Linked DNA regions of Homo sapiens: regions 2, 3, 4 and 5 are each linked to region 1. Evidence: promoter capture Hi-C in 16 types of primary human blood cells and fetal thymus (Javierre and others, 2016). All regions are on one chromosome and are shown on one strand. The core of a region is centred on a gene start or on the middle of the fragment in contact, and the rest is flanking DNA. Distances in the headings are between cores, read along the strand shown.

Region 1 (3,534 bases), core at 333-2,832:
ACTCAAAGGCACGGCTTTTATGTATGGTCTAGAAGGAGAGAACAGGTGAACTAGTCAAGCTTAGGGACAAACTTCTCCAGAACAGAGTGTACTAGTGGATGTAACTGTAGATATAGTAAGTCAAGCAGTTAGAAAAAAAAGGCTTTAAAACAAAGCTTTGATCTAGGCAGTGAACAAGACGAGGGACAAACAATACTCTTATTGAATACACGTCAGGGAGGAGACAGTAAAAAGCACGCAAACACAGTGTGTTCAGAATTTGCTGCTTTGACCCCAGGAGGCAGGTATTTTTGTTACAGCTCTTGCAGATGTGGAAAGAGGCCTAAAGGCCTGACACTACCATATTCCCCTGGGGTTTCTTGCCAGCTACCTTGATCATCCCACCTGCCATGTGATTACCAAGTGCTCAGACCTACCTTTGGAGCCTGTAGGGGAGGAGATTTTTCGAGGTCTGGCCCGAATGTCATAGATAATGGGGTACTGGAACCAAGGGATCCTGGAGAGGACAGGGATAGGTATTAAGAGGCCACAGTTTCGGCCGGGCGCGGTGGCTCACGCCTGTAATCCCAGCACTTTGGGAGGCCGAGGCGGGCGGATCATTTGAGGTCAGGAGTTCGAGACCAGCTTGATCTACATAGTGAAACCCCGTCTCTACTAAAATACAAAAATTAGCCGGGCGTGGTGGCGGGCGCCTGTAATCCCAGCTACTCGTGAGGCTGAGGCAGGAGAATCGCTTGAAATCAGGAGGCGGAGGTTGCAGTGAGCCGAGATCGCGCCACTGCACTCCAGCCTGGGCGACAGAGCAAGACTCCCTCTCCAAAAAAAAAAAAAGAAAAGGCCGCAGTTTCACTAGCCTTGCCCGGTTTCCCCTCACCACGCGTTTTTTGGCCTGCTCCTCTCCACGACCACAGACAAGGAGAGATTCTCTTGTCCCTCTGGAAAACAACAGTTTGTATGCTGCTGGAGGTTCTCGCAGCACCCACTATCCTAGGGGCAGGGATGAGGAGGGTGGGAAAAGAGCAGCGTTGAATCCTGTTGCACGTCCGACTATAGCCACTGCTGGGTCGGCGTCAAGGGTGAAAGGTCAGGGTCAGCAGGCTCTGCCCGCCATTACCTGAAGTGAAGGCCCTCGGCCAGGATAGTGTCCTGCTGCACTCCACCGATCCGATTGAAGAAGATGGCTCTGTGCCCGCCTTCCACTGTGGGGAGATGGGTGGTGATCAGGCCAGGCCGCTGCTCAGAGGAAATGCTAGGCCCGTGGAGGGGCGCGGGGACAGGGCAAGGGGTTTGGGGGAGGGACTGGAAGCGTCCGGCGAGCAGGCGGAGGTTGCTCACCGGTGAACACAGATTCGCGCACACCGTAGGCCACGGCGCCGGCCCCCAGCAACAGCTTCAGGGCCGTGCCCATGCCCCGGGGCCCGGCGGGCAGCCGTCCCGCCAAGTCCTTCAAGTTCTGGGCCATGTCTGATCTTGAGGCCGGCGGCACTGGAGGTCAGAAGGGGGTGCCGGCCCGCCTCTACCCCGCTCCGGCTTAGGTACTGCACCCTTCACACGAGGGTTCGGGCCCGTAAGGCTGGCGAAAGAAAGGGCAGCGGAAGTGCGCTCCCTTTGAAACCCTCCCCCTTAGCCCACTACGGACCCGAACTTCGCGCACAGGAATCGCGCATACGGAAGTCCCGCCCCTTTCTGGAAGGCTGCCCTCCCAGGGAGGGCAGCGCAAGACAGCAAGTCATCTCCATTTCCTGGCCCACTTTCAAAATGGCAGCCGGAAGGAAATTTGTGATTAGAAGCCGCGCTGTTCTTATTTAAGAGCGTTAGCGCAACTTCCGGTATTGTTGCAAGATGGCCGCGCCCAGTGATGGATTCAAGCCTCGTGAACGAAGCGGTGGGGAGCAGGCACAGGACTGGGATGCTCTGCCACCCAAGCGGCCCCGACTAGGGGCAGGAAACAAGATCGGAGGCCGTAGGCTTATTGTGGTGCTGGAAGGGGCCAGTCTGGAGACAGTCAAGGTAGTTTGGGACAGGAAGTGGAGAAGTAGTAAATCGATAGGTTGGGACTCCGTGGAATGAGGGTAAGGGGCCCAGAGTGGATGTAGAAAGCAGAGAGGGGTGAAAGATGCTTTTGAAGGAAGGTGGCTTGGTTGGCTTTGCGTTGATTTGACATCCTGGGATGGTAGTACTCATTTTTCTTTCTTTTTTTTTTTTTTTTTGAGACGGAGTCTCGCTCTGTCGCCCAGGCTGGAGTGCAGTTGCGCGACCTCGGCTCACTGCAACTTCTGCCTCCCGCCTTCAAACAGTTCTCCTGACTCAGCCTCTGGAGTAGCTGGGACTACAGGCAGGTGCCACCACGCCCGGCTAATTTTTTTGTATTTTTAGTTCAGATGGGGTTTCACCATGTTGGCCACGCTGGTCTCGAACTCCTGACCTCAAGTGATCCGCCCGCCTCGGCCTCCCAAAGTGTTGGGATTAGAGGCGTGAGCCACTGTGCCCGGCCGGTAGTACTCATTTTCTTTTGCTCTTTTTGAATGATATTCTAGCCCTCACCTCCTTGCTTCCAATTGGTTTACCAGGATTCTGTGGTATAGTAGTCTAAGCAGAGGAAAGTTTCGTTCCTTGCGTCATTCCACATCCCAAGACAAGTTACTGGGCAGATGAGAAACGTAGTTATGTAGCCTAGTCTGCCCACACTTTTTGTAAGGGCTTCGTGTTTCAATTCATTAGTATCCATAGTCACCTCTCTCTAATATCCACCTATGATACACTGTCCAGACCTGGTTATTATTTAAAACTTTTACATCTGCATTTTTATCTATCATTCATCTCTTTCCCCACATGTAATAGAACCAGCAGTTCTCTATCTTAAAGCCTTGGGCAGTGTTCTTCCTCCTCCTTTCTCTTACCCGTTAGAACTAATTGAATAGGCCCAGAAGAAATCGCATTGGTTTAGAAGTCAGGCCAGGATTTTAATCTTCGTTCTAAATACACTTTTTTTTTTTTTTTTTTTTGAGATGGAGTCTCAGTCTCTACCAGGCTGGAGTGCAGTGGCACGATCTTGGCTCACTGCAGCCTCCGCCTCCCGGGTTCAATCGATTCTCCTGCCTCAGCCTCCAGAGTAGCTGGGATTACAGGCCTGCGCCTGTAATCTATTAAAAGAATAGAAAACATGATTATATCCTACTAATGGGTTGAAACTGTATTATTCATTCAAGAAGGTTTTTTTCTTCTATAACTAAGGGTGTCTCATGGACTTAGTTCTTGGTCATTTGTTCTTTGTGCTCTCTGTGACATTACTTCAACTATTCAATTTCAAAATCTACATCCCTTTTTTCGCAGACTTTTTGGAGCCATATATCTCAAGAATGTTGCTAGACATATACATTCCAGTGATACATAAAAACTTAACCTTCCAAAACTTGTATTTGTATATAACAGTTTGTTTTTAGACTTTTTACTGACCACCCTAATGCTCCTTGGGACTCCAAATTGCAACTTGGAATTATTTCTTTTAGCTGCTACAGATGTAGTCCACTTCTT
Region 2 (3,635 bases), core at 302-2,801, 510 kb before region 1:
TGTCCCACCAGGTACTGGGAGTGTCCTCCTTTTCCCCACCTCCACACTAGGGCTCATGGCTCTCCTGCCCCAGCTCATCTATGGCCTTGTTCTGCTGCCCATCCACTTTGTTCGCAGCCCTGGCTTCATGCTCCTGCCTCTGCTCCTGACTATTTTCCCAAGGCGGCAGCTGCCACAGCTTCTACCACACATCCCCTGAGACTTCATTATACTCCAGCCTCCAGGGTGTCAGGCAATGTGCTTAAGGCTGGAGATCACAGATGAATAATTCCTGATCATGCCCTCCAGGAGCTTAGTCCAGTAATAGAGACAAGACTAAGTAGACAGAGAAGATGGCATTTGAGCCAAGTTAACTAGCTTAGAGGGAAGGGAACACTCAAGATAGAAACAATAGCATATATGAAAGCCAAATCATAAAACAGCCTAAAGAGAATTTGGAGAATTGCAAGTAATTCAGCACAGCTAGAGCTTAGGGTATATGGGAAAAAGGGAAAGTGGCTCTGAAGCTTCGGAGGTAATTCTATTTATTGAGCATTTACATGAATCAAGCAGTGTAGAAAGCACTTAAATGTATGATTTCATGGATCATGACTCCCATTTTACAGGTGAGTAAACTGGCACTTGCAGATGTCAATGAATTTGCCCAAGGTCACCTATCAATCAATGGTAAAGAGAGAATGTGAAAAACAGGCAACCGGATTCCCCTTACGGGCTTAATTAAACCCTGTAGATCTCACTGGGCCTTCAAGCTGGAACTTCCTGAGAGCCATAGCATGCTGTTGAAAGGTTTTATTTATTTATTTATTTATTTATTTATTTATTTATTTATTTTATTTTATTTTACTTTTTTTCGATACAGAATCTTGCTCTGTTCCCCAGGCTGGAGTGCAGTGGTATGATCTCAGCTCACTGCAACCTCCATATCCTGGGTTCAAGCCATCCTCTTGCCTCAGCCTCCCAAGTAGCTGGGATTACAGGCGCGCACCACCACGCCTGGCTAATTTTGCGTTTTTAGTAGAGATGGGGTTTCGCCATGATGGCCAGGCTGGTCTCAAACTCCTGACCTCAGGTGATCTGTCCGCCTCGGCTTCCCAAAGTGCTGGGATTACAGATATGAGCCACCGCACCCTGCCTGTCGAGAGGTTTTAAGCAGGAAAGGGACAGGAAAGAACCCGCAACTTGAAGTGGAAACATCCAGGAGCACTGGGCATTATTTGGTTGCTCATTAGACTGTGAACTTCCCCAAAACTGAGGTTTCACTTCAGCTCACATCATTCCCCAACTATTTACAAAATCCCAGTTAACTGGTGGTTTTTTGTTTTGCTTTGTTTTATTTTGTTTTGTTTTGAGATAGGGTCTCACTCTGTCGCCCAGGCTGGAGTGCAGTGGCACGATCTCAGCTCACTGCAAACTCTGCCTCCCAGGCTCAAGTGATTCTCCCACCTCAGCCTCCCAAGTACCTGGGACCACAGGCGCACACCAACATGCCCAGTTAATTTTTTGTATTTTTTGTACAGACAGGGTTTCACCATGTTGCCCAGGCTGGTCTCGAACTCCTGACCTCAGGTGATCCACCTACCTCAGCCTCCCAAAGTTCTGGGATTACAGGCATGAGCCACTGTGTCCAGGCAAGTTAAGTGCTAACAAATAAACCCACCTAAATCTCACTTGCAAAGCAATTTTTAAAACCTTGTCCTTAGGTGGGAAGAGGTAGAGAATTCTGTGTGGAGTAACTCACAAGTATCCAGCAACCTTGAATAAGAACAAATGCTGCTGAGTGCCTTGTTCCAGGCTCCTCAACCAGGGACTCACACACACAATCCTTAGCTCCTCCTCCCTGGGGTGGACACTGCAGGTGAGGGCTCAGCTCATGATTCCTGCGCACGATGATCCCCGCCCACGTTGCTCTCACCTACAGAGCGGAGAACAGCCTTGGGAGTCATCTTTGCCAGCAGTCTCTTCCTTCTTGCACTGATGTTCCTGGGGCTTCAGAGACGGCAAGGTAAGAGCCTGGGTGCCCTTGGCTCTGGCCCTGGCCCACCTCACCCACTCTAACCACCCCCCCGCCCAGACCAGGGTGGAAGCCCAGATGCCCCAAGCTCCAGCCACCCACCCATCACAGCCTCCTGCTTTTGAGTTTGCCCTAAATGAAAATGAAACCAGTCGTGTTCCCTCGTTTTCTCCTAGCTACCTCACTAAAGTCTGTCACTCTCCTGCCTCAGAGTAGAAAGAAAGAGTAGTCACGTGCTCCCAGAAGGACTCTAAGTCAAGTCACAGAGCTAAAAATACATGAAGGTGGCACCAGCTCATGGGGCACTGGGCCTGGCTCTGCAGAGGCCTCTGCCTTCCTTCACTGTGCACCCTGGGCTCATGCACCAAGGCAGAGAACAGGAAGAAGTGAGGGGACAAGAAGAAGGCAGAATGTCCAGATGGAGGATAAGACCAAAGAGCCAGGTTGGTGGTGTGACGGTAGGAAAACAAAGCTGGAGGAAATGGAGAAGGAACAAGTGAGGGACAATGAGGCATGGGTTGGGGCTGGGCTACCCCTCCCAAACTCAGCTCTGTCAAAATAAAAGGCCCTTGTGTCTGCTGCGACCAAGCTTTTCCACTTTCCTGTCTTTCTCCACACTGGTCCCAACTGAGCCCTGTCACCAAGCCTAGCGGCTCCAACTTGCAAAGTGTTTAAGTATGAAACAAAGGCCCTCAGAGGCACCCCCGTGGCTCCATCTCAGTTGCACCTCAGCTGCAATTAGGGTTCTGCTCCCTCGGGTGACTGCTGGGAGGTTCAGGATACCTGCAAATGCCTCACTCCCTCAGCTGCAAGGAGAGACTTCTCCTTTTTATTCGTTTCTAAAATGTGCCTAATCAATACGGTGGAACTCAGCATACCAAAACTGTACGTGAGGATGATGGGGAAAAGGGGGTAAGGGGGTGTTCACTGACAGCCTTATCTGGGCACATCCCCTGGGACAGGACAAGCAGGCCAAGGACCTAGGAAGGAGCACAGGAGGCAGATGGAAGAGGCCTGAGGGAACCTGTGCTTGTTTGCCAGTGTGAGATGCCCACGCAACTTCCTGTCTTCACTTCCTCTTACCAGCACCTACAGGACTTGGGCTGCTTCAGGCTGAACGCTGGGAGACCACTTCCTGTGCTGACACACAGAGCTCCCATCTCCATGAAGACCGCACAGCGCGTGTAAGCCAGCCCAGCTGACCTAAAGCGACATGAGACTACTAGAAAGAAACGACACCCTTCCCCAAGCCCCCACAGCTACTCCAACCCAAACAACAACCAAGCCAGTTTAATGGTAGGAATTTGTATTTTTTGCCTTTGTTCAGAATACATGACATTGGTAAATATGCCACATGCCTTTGGTGGAAGTACAACTGTTGTTATTACTCTATACAAGTATGAGATCAGGGTTAGGAAAAAAAGACAAAGAGGTGATGACAGACACACAGTGGAAACCCCACATCGTCTCATGGCAAACCGAAGAACGGGATGTGGGAAGCTCAGCTTCATTTGACTGCAAAGTCCCAGGGTTTTGTTGCACATTTGCTCATGCACATGGGTGGTGGGAGGAAAGGGGGATAGCAGAGACACACAGAAGAGGGTACAGGGTGGGTGAGAAAGAA
Region 3 (3,576 bases), core at 788-3,287, 270 kb before region 1:
CCACCCCCTCAAATGTGGCTCTCCTGGGTAAAGAATCCTGGGAAAATCGGGATGGTTGGTTTTGAAAGAGAAAGGGTGTGTTCTCAGAGCTGAGGGTGGTGGATCCAGGAGGGGCAGGCTCCCCAGAGGGAGTGAAGATAGGATACCCGTTTCCTGTGGATTCTGGGTCTAAATCTGCCCAATGGGCCAGACGCAGTGGCTCACGCCTGTAATCCTAGCACTTTGGGAAGCCAAGGCGGGTGGATCACCTGAGATCAGGAGTTCGAGACTAGCTTGGCCAACATAGTGAAACCCCGTGTCTACTAAAAATACAAAAATTAGCCGGGGGTAGTGGTGGGCGCCTGCAATCCCAGCTATTCAGAGGGCTGAGGCAGAAGAATCCCTTGAACCTGGGAGGCGGAGGTTGCAGTGAGCTGAGATCACACCATTGCACTCCAGTCTGGGCAACAAGAGCGAGACTCCGACTCAAAAAATAAAATAAATAAATCTGCCCATTGAATCTTCCCAGAGAACAACAAGGGAACAAGATGGGAAAGTCACGGGAAGGGCGTGGGGAAGCAGGCAGTGGGAGAGATGGGAAGGGGTGAAGGGCTGGGAGATGGAAGGCTGGTTAAGAGTGAGAGAGGAGAAATGTGAAGAGGAAGCTGGCCTGGAGTGCAGGGTGAGAGAGAGCAGGCAGTCCTGAAAAAGAGAGAACTGGGAAGAGAGGAGGAGAGTGGGTACAGAAGACTCGAACTGTGGAGGATGCCGAAGGGAGGAAAGGATGAGAGAAAAGGTCAGGGAGGGGAAACGGAGAGGATGAAGGGGTCACAGGTGCAGGGGAAGAAGGGGCAGGAGGAGAAGGAGAGAGCGGTCCAGGCAGGACAGCCAGAGGAGTGGAGAGTAAGGGGATGGGAGAAAAGGGGGGAAAGCCCAGGATGGGGAGAAAGGAAGTGGGGAAGGAGAGAACATAAATGCTTAAGGAAAAATGACACGAGGAACGGGCTGGGAAGCAGAGGCGGGAGCAGCAAAGATGGAGGAGTTCGGAATTGCTCCCCCAAATGTAAAGGGATGTGGAGATACCGAAAGACATAGGGATGGGGGCATGGTGGGAAGAAGGGAGAGAGAGGGGAAAGGAAGAAAGCTAGAGGGAGGGAGCGAGGCGTGTAGAGCGAACCAGTGAAGCGGAGAAGGGCTCCCAGGGCGCATCTGTGGCCAGCTGACTCTAGGACTATCGCCCCTCCGCCTGTGCATCCCCACCCCCAGCCAGCGCCAACCCAGTCCCTGGGCCCCGCACAGCTTCAGCCGCCCCCTCCAGGAAGCCCGCAGTCCCCGGGCTGGCGCGCCACCCCCACCCCTCTCCCAGCTTCTCACCGACCTGTTGTGCGCAGGAGACGAGCTGGGGGTGGGGCAGGAGCCTCGGGGTGCGGGAGCCGGGCCCCAGCCCCAGCGTGGCCCCCATCCCACCCATCCCGCAGGCCCGCACTCCCCGCACAGGGCTGGAGAGCGGCGAGAGTGGGGGGAGACGAGGAAAAGGAGGTCGGCGAAGGGACCCCGAGGCAGGGAGTGCCGAGAGCGGACTGGGGACCCGAAGCAGGAGACTGCGCGGAGCCGCCCGCCGAGCCGAGGCGGGATGGAGGCAGCCGCGGGGACGGGGACGGCTGCGCCAGGGAGGGCGGGAGCGAGCCAGGACCGCGGAGGGATGGAGAGCCCTTCGGGGAAGGGGCGCTGGGAGGCTGGAGGCCTTGTCCCGGGCGAGGGACCGCGTCGGGAGGGGCAGGAGGCGCAGGGCGCGGAGCCGGGAAGGGCAGGGCCGGGCTCCCCGCGGGTGGGGGCGTGGGGGTCCCTCTCACTCACCTGCATGCTTGGCGCGGCGGCGCGACGACTGCGGGCGCTCGGGACTGAGCGGGGCTGGGGGGTCGCAGGAGCGGGCGGGGTGCGGGGCATGGTGGGGAGGTTTGGCCCGCGGCAGGGCGCTGGAGCGGGTGGGGGGCGGGCGCCTGGGGCGCGGGGCGGCGGCGGTGGGAGATGCTCGCCTCGGCTCGGCTCGGCTCGGCTCGGCTGGGCTCGGCGCGGCGGCTGGGACCGCTCCGTCTCCGTCTCCGCCTCCCCCCCGCGCCGGAGGCCACGCACGGTTTAACCCTCCTGCTGCCGCGCTGCAGGAGTCAAGCCAGGCTATGTCCCAGGTGGAGGGCTGAAGAGGCTGGCAGGGTCCAGCGACCGTCCGCTTCCCTGGGTTCTGATGGCAGTCTCCCCACCTCCTTCACCCCAACTCCAGGGACACCCATGGTCGCCTCAGTCAGTTTCTGAGATTCTGAGTCACTCAATGCTCTGCATTCCCAACTTTGTTCTTTTGTATTGTGTTTTGTAGAGATGAGGTCTCGCTGTGTTGCCCAGCCCGGTCTCGAACGCCTGGGCTCAAGCGATCCTTCCCGCTCAGCTTCCCGGAGTGCTGGGATTACAGGCGTGAGTCACCACTGCCTGTCCCCCAACTTGGTTTTGCCCGCTGTAGAAAGTGCCTGAGGTCAAGGCTGGGGGCAAGGGGTGGAGGAAAGGACTGGGGAGGAAGGACCTTGCACCATCTTTGGATTATCCCCACAGCTTGATCCCCTATTTCACTCTGGCCCTGCTACCATGCATTAAGTGGATCACGTCGAAATTCCTGGGCTTTTCCAGCACTGGAATACCTAGACTCCGTGCTGTGACTTACAAGACCCTATATAACCTGGCTCTTAGGTGGCTCTCTGATTGCCTTTCCTAAAGATTTCTATGCTTCAGCCACATGGGACCTGGTGGATTTCCTGGTTGGAGACAGGTTTAACCTGCCTCAGGGCCTTTGCACTTGCTGTTCCCTCAGTAATACATTTCCCTGGCTTTTCACAATGACTTACTGTTTTCATTCCAGTCTCACTTAGATCCAACGCCTTCTGGGAGGCCTTCCCTAATGTCTCTATCAAAAGTAGCCTCTCCTGCCCCTTCTCCCACCACCTGGATCCCATCCCTCTCTACCACACTACGCTGTTTTTCCTCAGGGCACTTCCAGGACACCACACTCTCCTCATTTCCCTCCAACCTCACTGACTGTTCTTAGTCTTCCTCGGGTGACCTCTAAATGTTGGAGCCTCCTAGGGCTTAGTCCTTGGCCATTCTCTCTTTCCACATTCTCTGTCCAGTGATCTCATCCGGTCCCAGGGCTTAAATACTATGTAAATGTCAGTGAGTCCTAAATTTATATCCAGAGCGCCAGACTCATTTATCCGACAGCCTACTTGACATCTCCACTTGGATGTCTAATAGCCATGCAAAGCTAACTTGACTAAAATAGATGTCTTGAATTCCCCCACCCCCAATCCATTTTTCTCCCAGTGATCCCCATCCTGAGGCTTCACAACTACTAGTTGTTCAGGCTAAAAATCTAGGAAACATCCCTCCCTTCCCCTTTTTTTCACTGATTCTCTCCCTGTATCTAATTCACCAACAAGTCCTGTGGGCTCTGCGTCCAAAATATATCCCGAATTCATCTCCTTCTATCTTTATTGCTATAGTCTTGGTCTAAGCCATCATGTCTCATCCAGATTATCATAATAGCTTCCTCAC
Region 4 (3,537 bases), core at 365-2,864, 480 kb before region 1:
CCTAGACTCAACTCAGCTCTACTGATCAATCTTTAGGGGTTAGGACTAGGCTTTTGAAATGTTAAAACACCCAGAAAACTGATGACCAGTCAGGCTTAGTATCCGCCATCTCTACCATTCATATGGTACTTAATGTTTCATATTTAAATGGAAAGGACACCTCACACTTTTTTGTTTTTCCTATAGTTCCTACTCAGAGAATATGCCTAATAAATATTTTATGAGAGTAGTACAGAAGTATGACTCCATTTTTCTCTTATATTTCATTTCAGTGTGGAAGGCTCTTTAGAAACACTATTAACATAACAGCATTATGTCAAAAAGCGCCAATAACATTCTCACCAACTTTTCTTTTTAAAGGAATTAGGTATAGCTAGACTGTAAAAGGCAAGTGGTGTGAAGCCCAAACCTAAGATCCTAAGATCTAGGATGAGTCAAGACTTCATAGTCTACATGAGTAGAGGCAGCATCTAGAGGAAAACAAAAGTATGTGGCTATCAAATTCCAAAGAAGCCCCATTTTATTACAGAGAAAATACAAAGCCGTTTCCTCACAGGGAAAAGTACAGTTTCCCTTCTCCAGGGTGACAGATGAGCCTTTTCCGAAGTTCTCAGCTTTCTCTTCTATCGAAACTTCCCATGTCGGTTAAAGTGTTTGTAGAGATAGCGGATGCGTTTATTAAGGTTGTGCAGGTCATCAGCGAACATTCTACTTCCAACCATTTTCCTCTTTCGGATACAACGTTGCAATTCATTCCCTTTCCAACCTCGAAGCCATATGGGCCCCCTGATCAGTTCTTTGGGGTGCTTTTCAAAGTTTCCTGTGTAATGTGAGAGAACACATTAGATCCAAGACAAGAGAACTCATCCTACACCAGCTAAGCTTTCAACCCACGGTTGCATCTTGCTGAGCAGCACCTATAGACAAGGAACATTACAGTACAGAACAATAGCACAGACTCTGGAGCCAGACTGCTTGGGGTTAAAATTCTGATGCTGCCATTTATTAACTTTGGAAAAACTGTTTATTTTTACTTATGAAGTAAAAATTATACGAGGGGACTCAGAACAGTGCCAAACACAATGTAAACAGCTACATAAGTGTTTGCTCTTACTATTGAGCACAGTACCACTCTCTACACAGGAGGAAAAGATAGTCGTTACAGCCTAATTGCCATTCTGAAATTGTGTACCACGTCGAAGGTCAAGTCTTACCCAGGATCCCGATGTTGTCATACACTCCGAACATGGCCCTTTTCTCGTTCCAACGATCAACCACTTTGGGGGGCGGGAGAGTGAGCCTTATACCGATCAATCTAGGCACACCTGGGGATGGGGAAGGGAGGGAATTAATCTGAGCCGCCTATTATACTACGAAGCAGTTATCGGGGTGCCTACATCAGCCACTTACCAAGAGAGAAGCTTCTGCACGCCAGAGGCACCCAGTCCCACAGGCGCCTACCTGCCCCGGATAAGAGGTTCCCTGCCATTTCTCTAGTCTCCCCCCTTCAACAGCACACCAAATAAGCCCAAGAAGATGACAGGAACCGTCCCCGCCAACTTCACACGAGTACTAAGGCGAAGACAGCCATCTTGGGCCTTACCCAGGCAGCTGTGGGCGCACCGCCCACCTACGCCCCATCCGCAACAGCCACGAGCCCCGCCCCCCGGGTTCCGGCAGGAGGGGCCTCTACCACCCTTCCCGCCTCAGTGCTTCCGGTCCGCCTGCCGGAAGTTTTGGAGCGCCGGACAAGCTGAGGTCCGCGACTCGTCGCTAAGATTCCCCAAAACTGAGATTTCAAGAAAATTCACCCTTTCCGCTTTCTTTGGCGTCCTTCAACCGTGAAGGAAATGAAGGTTGAGAACCTGGAACCCGCTTCCAATGACCAAGCCCTTTCTCTGTGCCTCACAACAGTCTTCCGCTGTAGCTGTTTTTATTACCCCTATTTTACTACTGGGGAGGAGATTTGAGGTCCTGAAAGTGAAGTGACTTGCTGGACGTCACTTAGCAGAGGAGATGGCGAAACCTGGATTAGAGGCGATGCCTTCTAACTCCCAGCGTGGACTTGCCTCCTTTCCTGGGGGTGACTGAATGCCCAGCCAGGGACGCGACGTCTCTGGCCAGCAGAAATACGGCCTCCTCCCCGCCGACTGGGCAAAGGGGGACCTTGCGGCCAAGGAGGGATTCGCAGGCGGGCCGGGGGTGGGAGCGGGGGCCGGAGCCGGAGCCTTGGCCCGCCCCCGGGCGGCGCTGTGATTGGCCGGCCGCTCCGGCGGGCGTCGCGATTGGCCGTCCTGCAGCCGTTGAGATTTGAACTCGGTATTTGTGGCTTTGCCCGCGCGTTGCCAGACTCAGAGGCGGCCCTTTGCCTCTGCCTGCCGGGGATTGGCCGGATTCTCCGCCGACTTGAAAACTGCCTTGCTAATTGGTGCGTGTTGTGCACGCGTGTTTTTTCCTTTTCATTTCAGCCTGACTGCCGGAATCAGAGCCGCGGGTGAGATCCCCAGGTAAGATGTGGTGTTGCAGGTCGTAAAAGAGTAGGAAAGTCGAGTACATGGCAGTGTGACCCAGTCTTGGGCAAAATACAATAGGCCTAGTAAGTATATCCCTGGGGCGCGATGTGTGAGAAACTGTAAGTCTGACAGATCCGCAACGGAAGTTGTTAAGCAAATCGCTTAACAGATCCGCAACGGAAGATGTTAAGCAAATCGCTTAACAGATCCGCAACGGAAGATGTTAAGCAAATCGCTTAACTTTCTTACTTCAATTTCCGCTCTGTAAACTCATTTGTATTATTATGCACCTCATGGGATTGAGGTTAGGATACTTAGATCAGATATGATACATGCAAACAGCCTAACAGACTTGGCACAGGATAAATAAATCATCATTGTTAATGCTCTTACCATTCTGGTGCAGGAAGCCCACTAGCCCATGCTGGGGCACTGTTTTGGCCTCAGACGAGATCAGACCATTCTCTCTATACTTAAGGAGCTTTGCACATAAAAATGGAAATAATAGTACTTTGCACATTAATATGCCACTTTATAGTTCTTTAAACACCTTCGTACTGCTTGATTTGTTTGATCATCAGAGCAACTTTGTGAAGTAATCAGAGTTTAGTAACCCTGTTTTTACAGATAAAGCCCAGAGGTTTAAGTGTCAAGACCAAGTGCCAAAGTCACTACTAGAATTAGTTTCTAGTCCAGGGTCAATCTCAGATCCCGTAAGATAATGTTACTAGCTTGCTATAAAACTAAAAACCATTATATATGTTGGGGGTGGGGAACTAACAAAACCAGATGATGTTACTAGCTTGCTATAAAACTAAAAGCCATTATATATGTTGGGGATGGGAAAGTAATAGAACCAGATACGAAGACAGGTCTTGAATATAGACCCTGACTTTTTCACTGTTTGGTTTCTAGCCCTGTGAGCCTGTAGGAGTAGAATGGCTCCCCAAATGTATGAGTTCCATCTGCCATTATCCCCAGAGGAGTTGTTGAAAAGTGGAGGGGTGAATCAGTATGTTGTGCA
Region 5 (3,773 bases), core at 1,153-3,652, 380 kb before region 1:
CTCTACTAAAAATACAAAAATTAGCTGGGCGTGGTGGCACACGCCTGTTGTCCCAGCTACTTGGGAGGCTGAGGCAGGAGAACTGCTTGAACCCGGGAGGCGGAGGTTGCAGTGAGCCAAGATCGTGCCGCTGCACTCCAGCCTGGGCGACAGAGCAAGACTCCATCTCAAAAAAAAAAAAAAAAAAAAAAAAAAAAACCTAGTAGCGTCTACTGAGGCAGACAAGTCTGCTAGTAACTTGCTATTTGAGCTTGAACAAGTCCTGACCCTTTGCTTGCCCTCGAGATACAATGCTTTCTTCTTTCTAGCAGAAAGAACAAATACCCCAAAAGAAAAAATCTCCTAGGAATAGTCCAATACATTCGTCCAATTGAGACATTCAAAAGCTTTACTCCATCTCAAATGACAAAGTCCCAAAAGAACTACACAGAAAAGGAGATGCACAAGAAGTTACAGTCCAAAGATATAAGCAAATGAGGATTCCTGAAACTAAACAACTCCTTCTCTCTCACCATTGAAGCGGTCAATGGCCTCTTGCCGCATGTTCCCAGTGATTCCACCATCGATGCGTTCGTATTTATAACCTTCATGTTCCAAGAAATCCTCTAGCAGGTCTAGCATCTTGGTCATCTGCAAAAGAAGCACGGTTTAATTATGGAAGAGTCAGATGGTAATCCCTTTCCTTAGGTCACTAAGGGTTGTCTATGACTGTTCCCTAAAGCTCCCAGTCCACATGATACCTGGGAAAAGATGAGTACACGATGCCCACCCTCCTTAAGGTTCTTGAGCATTTTCTGCAGCAGCAATAATTTCCCAGATGCTCTGATTAGGGCACTGCCATCATACATGCCATTAGGCATCTTAGGAGCTTCCTGAGAACAAATGCAAAGAAAAAAGTATTAAAAGAAAGCCCACATGGAGAAGACCCAACCCAGGGAGGAACAGGAGATGGCACTACATACCATTGCAGCCACAGGGAAGAGGTATGGATGGTTGCAGCACTTCTTAAGATCCATCACCACATTCAGCAGAGACACCTGGTTGCCACCACCTCGGGCATTGAGTGCTTCAAAATTTCGAGTGAGGATGTACTTGTAGTATTTCCTACATGGGCAAGGTAGAAAGACAGGTTAGACTTGAGAGCCTTTCAATGACTAATAATGCAGTGCCAACAACTGAGATCTTTCTTCCAACACATCCCACTTTGGAACTAAGGACACCTAACGCACAAGCACTACCACCACCACCATTTTAAATAAGGAAAGGTATAACCTAAAATAAGTAAGAACTATGCGCTCCAGCGCCCTAGCATCAGGTTTCTTCAGGCCTTGCTTGCTCCTGTCACCAGATGCCTTGAAGCTGAGTGGGGGAGGAATAGGAAACACTCTGCAGACTGGCAGATGTCTAAATGGAGTCTGCTTCTGTCCCTCCCAACTCACTTCTGCATAGGGCTCAGCTCCACACGCACAATTAGTTCTGTCTTGGAGGGCATGTTCTTGAACACATCGGCTTTGAGCCGCCGCAACATGTGCGGCCCCAGCATGTCATGCAGTTTTTTTATCTGGTCCTCCTTGGCAATGTCAGCAAACTCCTCCAAAAAACCTTCCAAATTGCTTCAGAAAGAAAAAGGAAAAAAGTTATTGGAGAAGGAGAAAGGAAGAAAGAAAAGTGATACAGGAAATGGGCAACAGGAAGAATGAGAGGCACAATTATGAGCCGATTACAGATAAACACATACTTACTGGAACCTCTCGGGGGTGAGAAAGTTGAGCAGATGAAACAACTCTTCCAGATTGTTTTGTAATGGTGTCCCAGTCAGCAACAGCTTGTGCTGGAGTGAGTAACCATTCAATACCCGGAAGAACTGGTGAAGCAGATGGAGAAAGGTGAAATCCAATGAAAACAGAGCTCTAGCAAATCTCTACAAAATTTCAAGTTTTTCACTGCCCAATAGTTAAGCATCCCACTCCTCACATTCTTTTTAAAGGCCTGGCCACCAAGGGCTGTCACATACAAGGAAGGAAGGCAGAGACAATTTTCCCCTCTCCTCTCCATCTACAAGTTTTCCCCTTAATGAATTGGTAGTACTAGAAAAAACCCAAAGTGGGGGCTCCAACATCCCTCCCTCAGCCCTCACCTTAGACTGATTGTTCTTCAGCCGATGGGCTTCATCCACGATGAGGCAGGCCCAATCAATAGAGCCCAAAATAGCCATGTCAATGGTGATCAATTCATAGGATGTCAGCAGCACATGGAATTTCACAGATGCCTCTTTCTGCACATGAAGGCAACTTGGTCACTACTAGTCAGTTCCTCTGTGTAAGCACAACCAGGAGACTGATGGAATGTTTTCCTCCTCCCAGGGTTACCCTTTTGCCTCACCAGGGACCAGATCACAAGGAGGTAAACTAAGCCAGAAGCCACAACTCTTTCTCTAGGGTGGCTTCCCTCCCCTGAGATACCTTCATGCGGGAGGCCTTCTTGCCACCACGAATGGCATTGTCTTCAAAGGAGAACTCATTCTCTCGGATGATGGCACGGCTGTCCTTGTCACCCACATAGGTTACGACATACATGTCTGGAGCCCACATTTCAAACTCCCGCTCCCAGTTGATGATGGTAGAAAGAGGGGCGCTCACTAGGAAGGGGCCTTTGGAATGACCCTTTGAGAAAAAAGAGGAGAGTCAGGACTGAGGGCCCCAGCACACTGCAACCCCAGCGAACACCCACCACCCTGCTGCCCCCTCAAGCTGAGCCAAGGACTGACACACCTGCGCTGCTGCTCCTGCTCTCACCTTCCTCTATACAAGTGCCCAGCCCACTCCTTTCCAAAAACCCAAGGTCCCACCATAACTACAAGTCTTACCTCTCCCATTAAGTCTTTATATACTTTTTTTCTGAGACGGAGTTTCACTCTTGTTGCCCAGGCTGGAGTGCAATGGCGCAATCTCAGCTCACTGCAACCTCCACCTCCCGGGTTCAAGCGATTCTCCTGCCTCAGCCTCCCAAGTAGCTGGGATTACAGGCGTGCACCACCACATCCGGCTAATTTTGTATTTTTAGTAGAGACGGGGTTTCGCCATGTTGGTCAGGCTGGTCTCGAACTCCTGACCTCAGGTGATCCACCAACCTCGGGCTTCCAAAGTGCTGGGATTACAGGTATGAGCCACTGCGTCCAGCCAAGCCTTTCCATACTAATTCTACTCATAATTCTACTTCCCTCAACACACAATCATTCCCCTAGAACTGATACTCTATGGATCCACTGCTAATCCTACCCAGGGCTCCATGCCCTCAAATCTTCCGCTGTGTACATGTGTTTATCCACTATCACATTTATCTACTATCTACTAAACACATGTGTACATGTGTTTATCTATTATCCACAGTGTTCTTGAAGGTCAGAGACCAATTTTTTTATTCCCTTATCTCTCTACTCAGTGTAAGTTAAGGCTTCAAACACAAAACACCCACACAAAAAACTATCCACCCCAGATTTCCTTACCTCCTTGTAAAGGGAATACAGGAAGACTGCTGTCTGTACAGTTTTCCCAAGGCCCATCTCATCAGCCAAGATGGTGTCAGTGCCCTGAGCCCAGGAGAAGCGCAACCAATTCAGGCCCTCCATTTGATAGGGGTGCAGGGTTCCACCTGTAGCATCCAGGTACTCTGGCTGTCGCTCATACTTCACTGTTGGCTGAAGGATGAAACAGAGAAGTCAAGAGCTGGCAAGGAACTCCCCTCCTCCCCTAATAGAGCAGCTGCTTCCTCCT

The links. Contacts are between HindIII fragments. The CHiCAGO score rates a contact against its expected background, and 5 or more counts as called.
Region 2: a fragment that was not itself captured here is called in contact with the fragment with the promoter of PHB2 in region 1 in 2 of 17 cell types (naive CD8 T cells and activated CD4 T cells); the score reaches 5.9 in naive CD8 T cells.
Region 3: the fragment with the promoter of PIANP here is called in contact with the fragment with the promoter of PHB2 in region 1 in 8 of 17 cell types (non-activated CD4 T cells, naive CD8 T cells, total B cells and 5 more); the score reaches 11.8 in non-activated CD4 T cells.
Region 4: the fragment with the promoter of MRPL51 here is called in contact with the fragment with the promoter of PHB2 in region 1 in 10 of 17 cell types (non-activated CD4 T cells, total CD8 T cells, total B cells and 7 more); the score reaches 13.8 in non-activated CD4 T cells.
Region 5: a fragment that was not itself captured here is called in contact with the fragment with the promoter of PHB2 in region 1 in 5 of 17 cell types (non-activated CD4 T cells, naive CD4 T cells, total CD8 T cells and 2 more); the score reaches 7.5 in non-activated CD4 T cells.

Annotation. Positions count from the first base shown.
Region 1 is chr12:6,969,082-6,972,615 of GRCh38, forward strand. It overlaps PHB2 (prohibitin 2), which reads right to left and starts at 1,583. Exons shown (of 10, transcript NM_001144831.2): 1 at 1,336-1,583; 2 at 1,115-1,199; 3 at 417-496. The coding sequence starts at 1,462. EMG1 (EMG1 N1-specific pseudouridine methyltransferase) reads left to right here and starts at 1,832. Exons shown (of 6, transcript NM_006331.8): 1 at 1,832-2,010. The coding sequence starts at 1,843. RefSeq lists enhancers at 1,507-2,109, 1,630-1,699, 1,790-1,969, 2,020-2,139. The HindIII fragment of the contact is 5,065 bases long and covers 154-3,534 here.
Region 2 is chr12:6,458,937-6,462,571 of GRCh38, forward strand. TAPBPL (TAP binding protein like) reads left to right here. Exons shown (of 7, transcript NM_018009.5): 5 at 1-11; 6 at 1,919-2,002; 7 at 3,098-3,380. The coding sequence ends at 3,213. VAMP1 (vesicle associated membrane protein 1) reads right to left here. Exons shown (of 5, transcript NM_014231.5): 5 at 3,301-3,635. Among named protein-coding and RNA genes, the nearest start is that of TAPBPL, 8.7 kb to the left of the region's middle. The HindIII fragment of the contact is 2,094 bases long and covers 505-2,598 here.
Region 3 is chr12:6,698,778-6,702,353 of GRCh38, forward strand. It overlaps PIANP (PILR alpha associated neural protein), which reads right to left and starts at 2,038. Exons shown (of 5, transcript NM_001244014.2): 1 at 1,837-2,038. RefSeq lists an enhancer at 818-1,319. The HindIII fragment of the contact is 12,862 bases long and covers 1-3,576 here.
Region 4 is chr12:6,491,648-6,495,184 of GRCh38, forward strand. It overlaps MRPL51 (mitochondrial ribosomal protein L51), which reads right to left and starts at 1,615. Exons shown (of 3, transcript NM_016497.4): 1 at 1,411-1,615; 2 at 1,215-1,325; 3 at 239-820. The coding sequence starts at 1,489. The coding sequence ends at 624. NCAPD2 (non-SMC condensin I complex subunit D2) reads left to right here and starts at 2,455. Exons shown (of 32, transcript NM_014865.4): 1 at 2,455-2,507; 2 at 3,429-3,537. The coding sequence starts at 3,452. RefSeq lists enhancers at 1,833-1,882, 2,050-2,647 and a silencer at 2,083-2,412. The HindIII fragment of the contact is 4,003 bases long and covers 1,420-3,537 here.
Region 5 is chr12:6,590,954-6,594,726 of GRCh38, forward strand. It overlaps CHD4 (chromodomain helicase DNA binding protein 4), which reads right to left. Exons shown (of 40, transcript NM_001273.5): 15 at 3,506-3,697; 16 at 2,463-2,663; 17 at 2,138-2,275; 18 at 1,743-1,864; 19 at 1,440-1,613; 20 at 963-1,104; 21 at 741-872; 22 at 513-630. Among named protein-coding and RNA genes, the nearest start is that of CHD4, 15 kb to the right of the region's middle. The HindIII fragment of the contact is 4,036 bases long and covers 385-3,773 here.